Linked DNA regions of Homo sapiens: regions 2 and 3 are each linked to region 1. The links are contacts of gene promoters, found by promoter capture Hi-C in human tissues and cell types (Jung and others, 2019). All regions are on one chromosome and are shown on one strand. The core of a region is centred on a gene start or on the middle of the fragment in contact, and the rest is flanking DNA. Distances in the headings are between cores, read along the strand shown. Region 1 holds the start of CDC37 (cell division cycle 37, HSP90 cochaperone). Region 2 has its middle 6.5 kb from the start of QTRT1. Region 3 holds the start of CARM1 (coactivator associated arginine methyltransferase 1).

Region 1 (4,062 bases), core at 1,075-3,574:
CAGGGAGGCTTCTTGTGAGTCTTGCCACATCAAAGAAAGAAAGAAGCAGCAAGAGGTGGGGCTAGGATTGGAACCCAAGCTTGCCTGTCCTTGAACCTGTGCTGGAGACGCTGAAGCCCCCTGCCTCCCTTACATGCCACTACAACCACCGGGGTTCTCAGCGGCAGGACAGGAAAAGCTCTGTGCCAGAGGGAGGAGGGTGTGGCAGGTACACTACGCTGCAGGAGGGGGGCCCTCCCACCCGGCAGGACCAAACCATTCTCCACAGTAGTAAAGATTAACCTCTTTATGTGACAGAAATAGGTCTTCCCAAGAATAGTCTTTGGAGCTTTGAGGAAGTCTTAAATATTTCATAATAAAATGTTACACACGGCAAGAAATAGAAGCGCTAGAACTTTCTTCCCACACTCCAGTGGCTTGCTTGGCAGGTACACTACCCAGGAGACTCAGGATTTAAGGAATAGGTCTGGAAGTGGGACTGGGAGCTAGATGAAGAGACTAATGCCGTATTCCAGAGTATTCTGGAAGGATGGGAAAGGGACCTTCTAGTTGTTTCTGGATAAATGATGGGGAATTGCCCTATGGGAGGGTGGGGTAAGAGATCCTCACTAGAAGGTTCTGAGAGGTATATGCCCTTCGTTTAAGAGCACAACATGGCTGGGTGCGGTGGCTCACGCCTGTAATCCCAGCACTTTGGGAGGCCGAGGTGGGTGGATCAACTGAGGTCGGAAGTTCAAGACCAGCCTGACCAACATGGAGAAACCCTGTCTCTACCAAAAATACAAAATTAGCCAGGCATGGTGGTGCATCATGCCTGTAATCCCAGCTACTCAGGAGGCTGAGGCAGGAGAATCACTTGAACCCGGGAGGCAGAGGTTGCAGTGAGCCAAGATTGTGCCACTGCACTCCAGCCTGGGCGACAAGAAGGAAACTTCGTCTCAAAAAAAAAAAAAAAAAAAAAAAAAGGAATACAACAGACACTGGTATGTAATGCAGGCACACTCATTTGGGGTAGCAGGAGGTTAAACCTTTAAGTCTTAGTCATCCCATTGGCTCGTGAGCACTGAGAGGGTGGTGGGACATGGATCACCCAGGCTTGGGATTCTGGGGTCTGGATTCGGGACCTCTGTTGTGGTCAGATAGAAGAAGGGGTGGTGAATTTAGAATCAGACCAGGAGAGTCCCTGGATAAGAGCAGGGACAATTTGGGTCACAGAGTAGCTAACAGGCTGGGGACAAAAGGTGGGGTGGGTTTGGGGTTCTGGGCTTGAGTTAGGGGAGAGTTTCCAATGCTGGCTGAGGCTCATACAGGAAGCCAGTCTGGGAAGTGGGTGGTGACAGGGTCTGCAATACCAAGTAGGAGCAGGGGCTCTGGCTAGGCCGGAAGCCACGTGGGCAGGATTTCCTGGTATAATGGGAAATGGGTCTACCGGAGGCCAAAGGAGAGGCTGGAATGTGAGGCTCTATCGGGTTGGAGCTGGTAGTTAGATCCAGAGGGGAACCAGATTCCAAAACCCAAGTACTCGGTGAGACTAAGGATCCTGAAGGGGGACGGTTCTACACTCTAGGAAGGGGGTCCTGGGTGTGGGCAGGGACAGGAATATCAGAGTAGCACAGAGTTCCTTGTTCCGTTTAGAAAAGGAGTGGCGACTCCGGATCTGAATGGGAACCCCGGATCAAGATCCCGGAAAGTAGATCCCGGGACAGACCAAAGTATTGGGGGTCCAGACTACGGAGGTGGGGGGGCGATGGGAGATCCCAGATAGGAAGTGAATACCCGAATAGGATGAGGGATCATCTAGAAGAATTTGGGGTCCAAACTTTGAGGCAGAGTTCTGGGTATAAATGTTAACTGCCGAACAGAATTAGGGAGAACCCCCAAGACTCGTCTAGGGGACTCCAGACTATGAAGAAGTTCTAGGGGGTGAATAGGGAATCCCACGCAAAAATCGGAGCAGGGAGTGGGGGAGCGGAGATCCAGGGCAGGGACTCAGGGTCCCAATGGTACTGGGGTCCCGGAGTTGAATCGAAGCTCCTGAAAATCCAGACTGGGGGGGTGAGAATCCTAGGTGTGAACAGCGGGGTCCCTGGGCAGTATCGGGGATCACAACTCCGAAGCGGGGTCCGGGAGTGGGGAAAGGGATGGGCGCGCGCGCCTTACCTGATGCCGCCAGCGGAAGAGACTGGCCGTGTCGATGTTGGGGTGCGTCTCGTCTTCATCATCAGACACCTCAATGTGGTCCCACACGCTGTAGTCCACCATCTTGCCTTGGCGGCCCAGCCCGCTCCGGCTCGGGTGGCGGCGACGGCGGCAGCAGTGGAGACTAGGAGCGCGGAGCCCCGCCCCTTCCGCTTCCGCCGAGCGCGGGAAACCCCGCCCTGTGTGACGTCACATCCCTAGTAACCGCGGCAGCGGCACTAGCTACCCAGCCAGCCTTAAAGGGCCCTGCGTAAGTGTTCCGGCCCCCTGGAGTTCCCGCAGAGACTCCGCGTCATCGGGCGCTGGGGCTCCGCTAGGTCTCCTGGGGGCATATGAGTGCGCGCTTCAACTCCGAGCCCCCCTCATCTCCCGCCGCTCCACGGTGGGCGTTTGGGGTGGCAGGGAGGGGACGGTTGATGAGACTGAGAGGACTGTCCCCTCAGCCACGCCGCAGTGACGTCTGCAAGGGGTAGGGACACGGCGGGAAGGCCCTCCCCCTGCCCTTCGTAAACGGGGACCTAAGCCTGCGCTGGAGAGGGGCGCCTGATGACTCCTCGGACTTTCTCAGCCCGAGGAGGACTGGACCTGCCCTGGGGGTGTCTAAATCGGGGGTGGTATGGCCCTCCCCTTGCAGGGTTAAACGTGGAGGGGAGACTGTGGCCCTGCCTTGGGAGCTGGGGTTTCCCCGCCTCGGCAACAGCCTTCTCCTTGTCTTCCACCTCCTGCCATTCGCAGCGAGGACTCGCGCGAGCGCGCGCGCGCACACACACACACACACACACACACACGCACACACACACACACACACACTTTGGAATCACCCGGACCCCCTCAAAACGGGTCTCGGCTCCCCACCCCGCTGGCCGCTGGGTGTCGCTAGAGTCTAGCCCACGGCGCGTATTCCTGGCCCCGCGCTTGGTGGGGGGAATCGTGGAGGGGTGGAAGGGGGCTTTCCTTGTCGTCACAGTCTGGGGCCACGCATAGCCCCTCCCCGTTCGTCTTGGGGTACGCTTCCTCCGCCGGGGCTCTAAGGACTCCATTACTCTAAGCATGCAGGGCCTCGACCACCTCACACTTCCATGCATCCCAATCCACGCTTTGATACCAGGATAATAGGCCGTGTTGCAGCCTTGGGCCAGGATTATCTCAGATTAAAGGGTGCTCCCTCGGGGGTCAGGCTGGATAGGAGGAGCTCCAGCCACTCCGGTGAGGGGCGCCTCTTCCTAGTCTCCCCTGGAGCCGACGTTGGAGGCAGTGCCTGGAGAGAGCGAGCGAAGTTCTCCAGAAGGGGGAGGATTCCCCGGTGCATGGAGCGGGAAGGGCCATCGGACAAAAACGTCCTCCCGCTGCCGCCCTTCCCCCTCGCGCTTCATTCAAACCCGCGAGTGGGCGGGCAGGGGCGGGGGAGTCCCCATCTCCTACCCCTCCCTCTTCCCCTCCACCCTGGCAGTCCAGCACATCAGTGGCCGTCACGGCCCGGGCACGCGCGCGCACGGACCCACACCCCGGCGGCTCTCACAATCGCACACACACATACACACACACACCAGCAAACAAAGGGTCTGGACACCCCCGTCCCCTCCCGCCCCCCAGGCCAGGGAGGGCGGGGCATCCCCTCCCCAGGCCCCCCGCAAGGTAAGCTTGGGGCTGCGAGCTGCGGTGGGGAGGGGGACACGGTGCCACAGTGGGAGGGGGCCAGGAAGGTAGGGGGTTCCCCGGCTCCCCAGGAAAGTCGTACCCCCACCCCCACCGTATGCCCTTTAGGGATTCGGCCCCGTCATCAGCCTGGGGGTGTTTGGAGAGAATCCCAGATGTCGGGGATTCCCGGATAGGCGCGGGGGTCTCTTCCTGGCTCTGGAGACT
Region 2 (4,067 bases), core at 228-2,727, 290 kb after region 1:
AATTCAGCTGGGGGATGAGGATGGGCTTCAAGAAGCTGAAGTCAGGTGGGTAGAGCATTTTGATGCAAAACAAAGGAATGCTGGGAAATGAGGCTGGAGGTCAGTGGGATCTTGAGGGCCCCCAAGTGGAGTGCCAGGCACAGGAGTTCTTGCCTTCTTTCTAAGGACAGTGGGGAGCCATGGATGGATTCTGACCTGGGAAGACTTCAGGCCCATTCAGGCTCCCAAGAGTATATATTTGTTTATTTATTTTACTTATTTAGAGATGGAGTTTCGCTCCTGTTGCCTAGGCTGGAGTGCAATGGCACGATCTCTGCTAACCACAACCTCCGTCTCCCGGGTTCAAGCGAGTCTCCTGCCTCAGCCTCCTCAGTAGCTGGAATTACAGGCATGTGCCACCAAGCCTGGCTAATTTTGTATTTTTGGTAGAGACAAGTTTTCTCCATGTTAGGCTGGTCTCGAACTCCCGGCCTCAGGTGATCCATCTGCCTCGGCCTCCCAGTGCTGGGATGACAGGTGTGAGCCACCGCACCTGGCTGTTTATTTTTTAAGATGGAGTCTTGCTCTGTCGCCAGGCTGGAGTGCAGTGGAGCAATCTCGGCGCACTGCAACCTCCGCTTCCCAGGTTCAAGCAATTCTCCTGCCTCAGCCTCCCGAGAAGCGGTAACTACAGGTGTGTGACACCATGCCCAGCTAACTTTTGTTTGAGACAGAGTCTTGCCCTATCACCCAGGCTAGAGTGCAGTGGCATGATCTCCGCTTACTGCAACCTCCGCTTTCTGGGTTCAAGTGATTGTCCTGACTCAACCTCCCTAGTAGCTGGGATTACAGGTATGCACCACCATGTCCGGCTTTTTTTTTTTTTGAGACGGAGTCTCACTGTCGCCCAGACTGGAGTGCAGTGGCATGATACCGCTCACTGCAAGCTCCGTCTCCCGGGTTCACGCCATTCTCCTGCCTCAGCCTTCCGATTAGCTGGGACTACAGGTGCCTGTCACCACGTCCGGCTAATTGTATTTTTAGTAGAGACGGGGTTTCACGTGTTAGCCAGGATGGTCTCGATCTCCTGACCTCATGATCCGCCTGCCTCGGCCTCCCAAAGTGCTGGGATTGCAGGAGTGAGCCACCGCGCCCAGCCAATTTTTTGTATTTTTAGTATTTAGTATTTTTAGTATTTAGTATTTAGTATTTTTGTATTTTAGTTCCACCTTGCTGGCCAGGCTGGTCTCAAACTCTTGACCTCGTGATCCACTCGTCTTGGCCTCCCAAAGTGCTGGTATTACAGGCGTGAGCCACACGGCGCCTGGCCTACAGTTTTTTTGTTTGTTTTGTTTTGTTTTTGAGATAGTCTCTCGCTCTGTTGCCCAGGCTGGAGTGCACTGGAGTGATCTCGGCCCACTGCAACCTCCGCATCCCGGGTTCAAGTTACTCTCCTGCCTCATCCTCCCGAGTAGCTGAGATTACAGGTGCCCAGCATTATGCCTGGCTAATTTTTGGATTTTTAGTAGAGATGGGGTTTCACCATGTTGGCCAGGCTGGTCTTGAACTCTTGACCTTGTGATTCGCCTGCCTCAGCCTCCCAAATTGTTGGGATTGCAGGCGTGAGCCACCGCTCCCAGCTGAAACTATTTTTTAGACAGGGTCTCGGTCTGGTATGCAGTGGTGCCATCATGGCTCACTCATCCTCCTGAGTATCTAGGACTACAGGCCTCACTGCCTGGCTAATGTTTGTTTTTCTTCATAGGGGCAGGGTCTCAGGTTGATGTCCAATTCTTGGCCTCAAGCCATCCCCTCTTCAGCCTCACGAACTGTTGGAATTAACCATTGTGAGCCACCGCGCCTCAGTACAGTTCTTTTGGTTGCTGAGCTGAGTAGGTGTATGGGAGAGGTGAGAATGGGGGCCCTGGAGACGACAAGAGGCTTGACTTTTGGAACATCGGAGCTGAGGTTTACAGTGATTTTTGCAGCTGAGTCCACTGGTCTTGATAAGGGAAGAGTTTCTAGACTCAAGAGGGTTAAAAACGGTATGTCAAAGAAAAGGGGCCCGTCCTTCTCATTCTCAGGGAGACCAGCATTCTCTCCACGGAGTAGCCAAGAAGTCCATGAACTCCCAGGTCTTGGGCCAGTGCTTTTGTCTTCTCAAAAGATCTGGCGCCTAAGGTCTTCTTGCTTGGCAACAGGGCAGTAGGTGGGTGGCAATGTCACAGAGGGACGGTCCCCACACGTCCGATGAATAAACTGGAGAAATCCTCCAGGCTATCGAGACGACCACCCGAACTCAGGGCTCCAAGGACCATTATTTCAGCAAAACCCCTAACTCTCCTCTCCTGAATGTTCTGTATTCCTCAGTCAGTGCTCAGAAGTCCGTATCCTGGACCCAGGACCTCAGCACCCGCTCCCTAAGGCCAACCATATAGTCCCCTGTTTGGGGGCTCCCCTGAGCAGTCGCGGGCGATCCCAGAGAAGGCAAGTTTCGGGATCTGACAGCCCCAGTCACGACCCTGGGTGCTGCGCAAGCCTCCATGTGAAGAGCGCGGAAACCGCCCCAGGCCTAGCTGCTGCAAACCACCGCTTCCAAACTTCCCGCCGGTCTCTAGGCTCCGGGTGCCCACCGCCCCTTCCTTCCTTCCTTTGCGCAATCAACAAGCTCCAACTCCAGATGGGATTTCGCAGGCCCTGCCCTGTGTATAAACTCTCTTCGTCCTGGGGTTGTCAACAAAATTTTTTTTTGGAGACGGAGTCTCGCTGTCGCCCAGGCTGGAGTGCAGTGGCGCGATCTCCGCTCACTCACTGCAACCTCTGATTCCCTGGTTCAAACAATTCTCCCGCCTTAGCCTCCTGAGTAGCTGGGATTACAGGCAAGCGCCACCACGCCCGGCAACAAACTCTTCTAATTGGCCGGACTCGCAGGCCCCGCCCCCACAGAGTGTGCCACTGCGTGGAGCGCGCCGCTCCTCATAGGGCGCTTGCGCAGGCTCCGCTCCCTGAGCGGCCGCTTTCCTGGTCTCCAGGCAACGCGTACGGCGCTGTCCACTGTGCTGAAGCCGCACACCAAGCGCCGCCTCTAGCTGCAGGCTCACGGCGCCCCCAGCTCTCCTAAGTGGGCGGTGCCAACACCCTAAAGCAGGGACCACTAAGCCTCCTTTGCGCCCTATCCCCAGTTTATCTCTTGGTAATAGGTAGAGCCCACTTCCCTCCACGTTGGCTGAGAAAGCCCTACCGTCCCATCCAGCTCAGAGGAAAGCCCAAGGCTTCCCGCGATTTCATGCCGTCACCTCCACACCCTCATCCGCTCACCTCCAGCCACACTGACCTCCGCGCTCACAACAGACAATCCAGACACATTCCCACCTCCAGGCCTTTGCTCTTAACTGTTCACGAGGCCTGGAGTGCTCTCTCCGATTCCGCATGACTCCTCCATCCTCCTTTCAGGCTCAAATCCCACCGTCTCAGTGAGCCCAGCCCTGACTATCCTGTCCTACTGAACACATTGACCTCTCTCTATATGTATGTATGTATATAATTTTATTTTTAGTTTTTTCGAGACAGGATCTTGCTCTGTTGCCCAGGCTGGAGTGCAGTGGTGCGATCATAGCTCACTGCAGCTTCCACCTCCCGGGCTCAAGCTATCCTCCTGCCTCAGCCTCCCGAGTAGCTGGGACTACAGGTGTGCAGCACTGCGCCCGTATAATTTTTGTATTTTTAGTACAGCAGAGGTTTTCGCCGTGTTGCCCAGGCTGGTCTCCAACTCCTGGGCTCAAGCGATCTACCTGCCTCAGCCTCCCAAGGTGCTGGAATTACAGGCGTGAGCCACTGCATCCGGACTAGAATATATTTGTTTAAGTGGGTGGATTAAGCCTCTTTTGATAATTGTTGAAGCTGGGTCATTGGTTACAAGGTGATAACTATGCAATTCTCTGTCCGTTTGTCTATGCTTGAAAAGTGTGTAATGAAGAATGTCAGGTGGCACAGTGATCTCCAGGAGGGGCAGAGAACCAGCATCAGGGGCTACACAGCTAGTGGTGGTACCCCAACGCCAACCCCACACATAGCCCAATCTCACAATG
Region 3 (3,985 bases), core at 1,304-3,803, 470 kb after region 1:
AAAGTGAAGGAACTGGTGTTTGAATCCATGCTCTCTGGTCCCCAGTTTAGCAGAGAGGAAGGCAGGAGAAGGGAAGACCAGGACAGGTGGGTGTGGGTGGGGGCGGGATGAGAGGAGACCTGCTGGGCTGGCAGAGTCTCAGGCTCAGAACATGGAGAAACCCTAGATCCTGAAACCCCAAATCACCCACTTCTGTGTTTCTTCTTACATGGACAAAGAAAACGATGCCAGAAGAAGACCCGGCCACCTTGGATGATCACTCAGGCACCACTGCCACCCCCAGCAACTCCAGGACCCGGAAGAGGCCCACTTCCACGTCCTCCTCGCCTGAGACCCCCGAATTCAGCACTTTCCGGGCCTGCCAGTGAGGCTGAGGACTGGGGGACCCCTCTGTCTCCAGGCATTCGGGGGCCTGAGGTCCCTCCAGCTACTTCTGGGGGGGCTCTGTCAGCCACTTTCTCAGGGAATTGGACAGAGGAAAGGAAGGGGAACCCTGGCCTTGGGATTTTCATCACAGAGGAGTGGGAGAGGGGACACAGGCATGGGCCTGGCACTATACAGACAACAGGAAGTTCCCCTCTCGACCTTCGGCTCCTCAGGACCACCAGAGAAGGAGATGTCAGGACCCCTTCTTGTCCCCCAGCTGGGCCATAAGACGTCCCAGGTCTCTGCACACCCGTGGAATTCCTCCCTTCCCCAGTGGGTTTTTGAGCATAGGGTGCCCTTGGGTGTGTTGTGTGTCTGCCTGCTGGCTTGCTTAAGTTATTAATTATAACACGGGTCAAGGTGTTCCCAGGCCTCTATGGAGTGGAATCCTTCAAGCTGGGGACCTCTGGATCCCATGGTTGGATGGCTGGGGGGTGGAGCGTGTCTGAATTCACCAAATTTGAAGCATCTCTCAAGGGCAGTCAGGGTGGTGTATGCGGAGCCTCCTGGGGGTGTGGGGAGTGCAGCAGTGCCATGCCAGGGTCTCTGCAACGGTACTTGCATTAGAGGGTTTAGGAGGTGGAATGACAGGGGCTACGGGTGAGGGACATGAAGGAGAATGAGGGCCCCTCGCAGTGGCTCACACCTATAATCCCAGCACTTTGGGAGGCCGAGGCAGGGGGTTGCTTGAGCCCAGGAGGTTGAGGCTGCAGTAAGCTATGATGGCACCACTGCACTCTAGCCTGGGCAACACAGTGAGACCCTGTCTCAAAAAACAAAAGGGGCCGGGCGCGGTGGCTCATGCCTGTAGGCCCAGCACTTTGGGATGCCGAGGCGGGCGGATCACCTGAAGTCAGGAGTTCAAGACCAGCCTGACCAACATGGTGAAACCTCGTCTCTACTAAAAATAAAAAATTAGCTGGGCGTGGTAGAGCATGCCTGTAGTCCCAGCTACTCGGGAGGCTGAGGCAGGAGAATCACTTGAACCCGGGAGGCGGAGGTTGCGGTGAGCTGAGATCGAGCCATTGCACTCCAGCCTGGGAGACAGAGCGAGACTCCGTCTCAAAGAAAAAAAAAAAAAAAAAAAAGGAATGAGGCGTAAATGAGGTCTAGGGAAGAGTTAAAGCTGGAGTGCTAGGAAGTGGCCCAAGCTCACTGGGTCGCCCAAAAGAGATGGGGCCACCCAAAATGAAGGGGGATGCAGAGAGAAGACGGGTTTGTGTGGCGGGAGAGGGGCCCTGCGCCGGGCCAGGCTGGACTCAGCATCGTTGGAGGAGGGGCTGAGAGAGGAGGGGGTCAAAGGATATCTTGTGCGAAAGGAGACAGTCAAACATTAAGGATTAAGAAGGCAATGTGGGCAGAGATGATGGGGAAGGGAGGAGGAGCGGTCGAATGTCGGGGAGGGGTCCTTTCAACCGGGCTCAGGTTGCTCCTGGAGGCCAGGGCTCATCGGAAATCGTCGGTGCGGGGGCGGTGGGGGGAAGGGTTGGGGGCGAGGCCCGGGCGCTGGCCACGCCCTTTCCCCCGCCCATTCCCCAGAGCGGGGCGGCTGACAAAGCGAGTCCGGGTGGGAGGGCGCGGGCAGGCACGGGGGCGGGGCCTCGTCGCGGCTGGGCCACGCCTCCCTGAGGGCTGCCTCACAAAGCCGGGCGGGCCCGGGGGGGTGGGGCCCAGTCTCAGGGGCGTGTCCAGGTCGGGGCAGGGAAGCCGCATCACGACGCGCGGCTGCTTGTGTGGGGCGGGGTACAGGGCGTGTCCACGCGGCCGAGCACCGCCCCCGCCGTCCCCGCACCGCCTCACTCGAAAGCAGCCGTTAATGAGGCGCCGGCCTGGGGGCGGGGCCCAGGCCTCCGAGGGGCGTGCCCGCGCGCCCGAGCACCGCCCCCGACGTACCCTCCCGCCCCGCAGTTCCCGGGCGGTGGAGCCACCTCACAAAGCGGCGACCGTTCTCGCGGGGCGGGGCGTAGCCGGTCCCGCCCCACGGGGTGCCCTCTCGTTCGCTCGCTAGCTCCCCGCGCCCAGGACGGCCGGCAGAGGGCGCTGCGCCACGGGGCCGGGCCGCGGCGACGGTGGCGGCGGCGGCGGCGAGGCGGCGCGTGGCCGGCAGGCGGCGCTGCCCGGCTCGGCCTCGGCCTGCACGGCGGCTGCGGCGGCGGTAGCGGCAGCGGCGGCGGCGGCGGCGGCGGCGGCGGCGGCGGCGGCGGCGGCGGCGGCAGCGGCGGCGGCCTGGGCCCGGGCGCAGCGGCGGCGGCGGCGGGGCCTGGAGCCGGATCTAAGATGGCAGCGGCGGCGGCGGCGGTGGGGCCGGGCGCGGGCGGCGCGGGGTCGGCGGTCCCGGGCGGCGCGGGGCCCTGCGCTACCGTGTCGGTGTTCCCCGGCGCCCGCCTCCTCACCATCGGCGACGCGAACGGCGAGATCCAGCGGCACGCGGAGCAGCAGGCGCTGCGCCTCGAGGTGCGCGCCGGCCCGGACTCGGCGGGCATCGCCCTCTACAGCCGTGAGTACGGGGCCCCGGGGCAGGCGCAGGGCCGGGGCTGCTCACGAGGCCGGCCCGGGGCGGGGGCCGGCGGGGAGGGGCCCTGAGCGCGGGGGCCTGGCGTGGGGTCCCCGGGACTGAGCCGGTGGCCTGCAGGGAGCGACCGTGGAGGGCCGGTGCCAGGGGACAGACAGAGAAAAGAGGGCGTGCGTGGTGGCCGGAGGGGCAAGGTGCCCAGAGTGAGCAAGGGAGCGCGAAATGGGGAGTGAAGGGCCTGAGATTTGGGAGGGGTGGGTGAGCAGGAAGTGGGGGGCTCTGAGTGGAAGGGGAATTTGGAGGACGCCAGGCGTGGTGGGCTTAAGCGTGGGGGAGGGAGGTCCGGGGTGCGGGAGAGGTGGGCGTCTCGGGGGCGGGCGTGGCCGCCTCTGCAGGGAGGAGGGTGGGGCGTGGGCGGCCCGGGATCCCTCTGGGGACCCCCTGGATAGCTCAGGACGGTTGGAAAGTGTTTGCTGGTCTGGGGCGCCCGCGAGTACCGAGTTCCACCGCTGTGCGAGGTGTGGCGTTCAGGACCCCCGAATGGGAAACTTCAGGATCTGGGGAGAGGGCCCATGCGGGGACGGTGGGAGCCGCAGGGTGAGCTCCTCGTGGAAACGTGGACGGGACGGGCCCCTTCCTGATGCCGGGCTTCGAAGTAAGAGCTAACAGCCTCCTCCCATCTTCTTTTGGGGGATGTGAGAAGCTGGTTACATTTTCCGAAGCTGCTTTCAAAACTGACATTTCACTGGGGGGAAAAGAAAATCACAAATGCGTTTGCCAGCACCCCCCACCCCCGCTCCCAGTCTTTGTAGTTCATTCTTCTTCTTGTTACTCCTTCTTATCTCTTCTCTTTGATTCCTTGTTCACATTTTGCTACTCTGTGTCATTTGGCTTTGTCTTTCAGGGCTTCTTGCACTGATGCCCTGGGGAACCCCTCAGGAGGCCTCTAGCTAGCTTGGGTCCTGTGTGAATTTTTTGCCACTTTGGAAACGGCCCGATTAAAGGAAAGCCCGAGGAGCAGTCCGTTCACACTGGGTTTTCCCTGCA

Evidence for each region. Contacts are between HindIII fragments. The study calls those that stand out against the background at their distance.
Region 2: a fragment that was not itself captured here is called in contact with the fragment with the promoter of CDC37 in region 1 in 1 of the 25 tissues and cell types used here (spleen).
Region 3: the fragment with the promoter of CARM1 here is called in contact with the fragment with the promoter of CDC37 in region 1 in 2 of the 25 tissues and cell types used here (adrenal gland and spleen).

The regions. Positions count from the first base shown.
Region 1 is chr19:10,401,218-10,405,279 of GRCh38, forward strand. It overlaps CDC37 (cell division cycle 37, HSP90 cochaperone), which reads right to left and starts at 2,325. Exons shown (of 8, transcript NM_007065.4): 1 at 2,161-2,325. The coding sequence starts at 2,262. It overlaps MIR1181 (microRNA 1181), which reads right to left and starts at 2,321; the gene lies at 2,241-2,321. RefSeq lists silencers at 2,041-2,100, 3,811-3,860 and an enhancer at 2,501-2,850. The HindIII fragment of the contact is 39,094 bases long and covers 1,960-4,062 here.
Region 2 is chr19:10,692,935-10,697,001 of GRCh38, forward strand. No RefSeq gene overlaps it. Among named protein-coding and RNA genes, the nearest start is that of QTRT1, 6.5 kb to the right of the region's middle. RefSeq lists an enhancer at 2,413-2,912 and a silencer at 2,869-3,128. The HindIII fragment of the contact is 7,533 bases long and covers 1-4,067 here.
Region 3 is chr19:10,869,000-10,872,984 of GRCh38, forward strand. It overlaps CARM1 (coactivator associated arginine methyltransferase 1), which reads left to right and starts at 2,554. Exons shown (of 16, transcript NM_199141.2): 1 at 2,554-2,923. The coding sequence starts at 2,704. C19orf38 (chromosome 19 open reading frame 38) reads left to right here. Exons shown (of 7, transcript NM_001136482.3): 7 at 219-791. The coding sequence ends at 368. RefSeq lists silencers at 1,814-2,603, 2,734-2,783, 2,874-3,083 and an enhancer at 3,824-3,985. The HindIII fragment of the contact is 23,799 bases long and covers 1-3,985 here.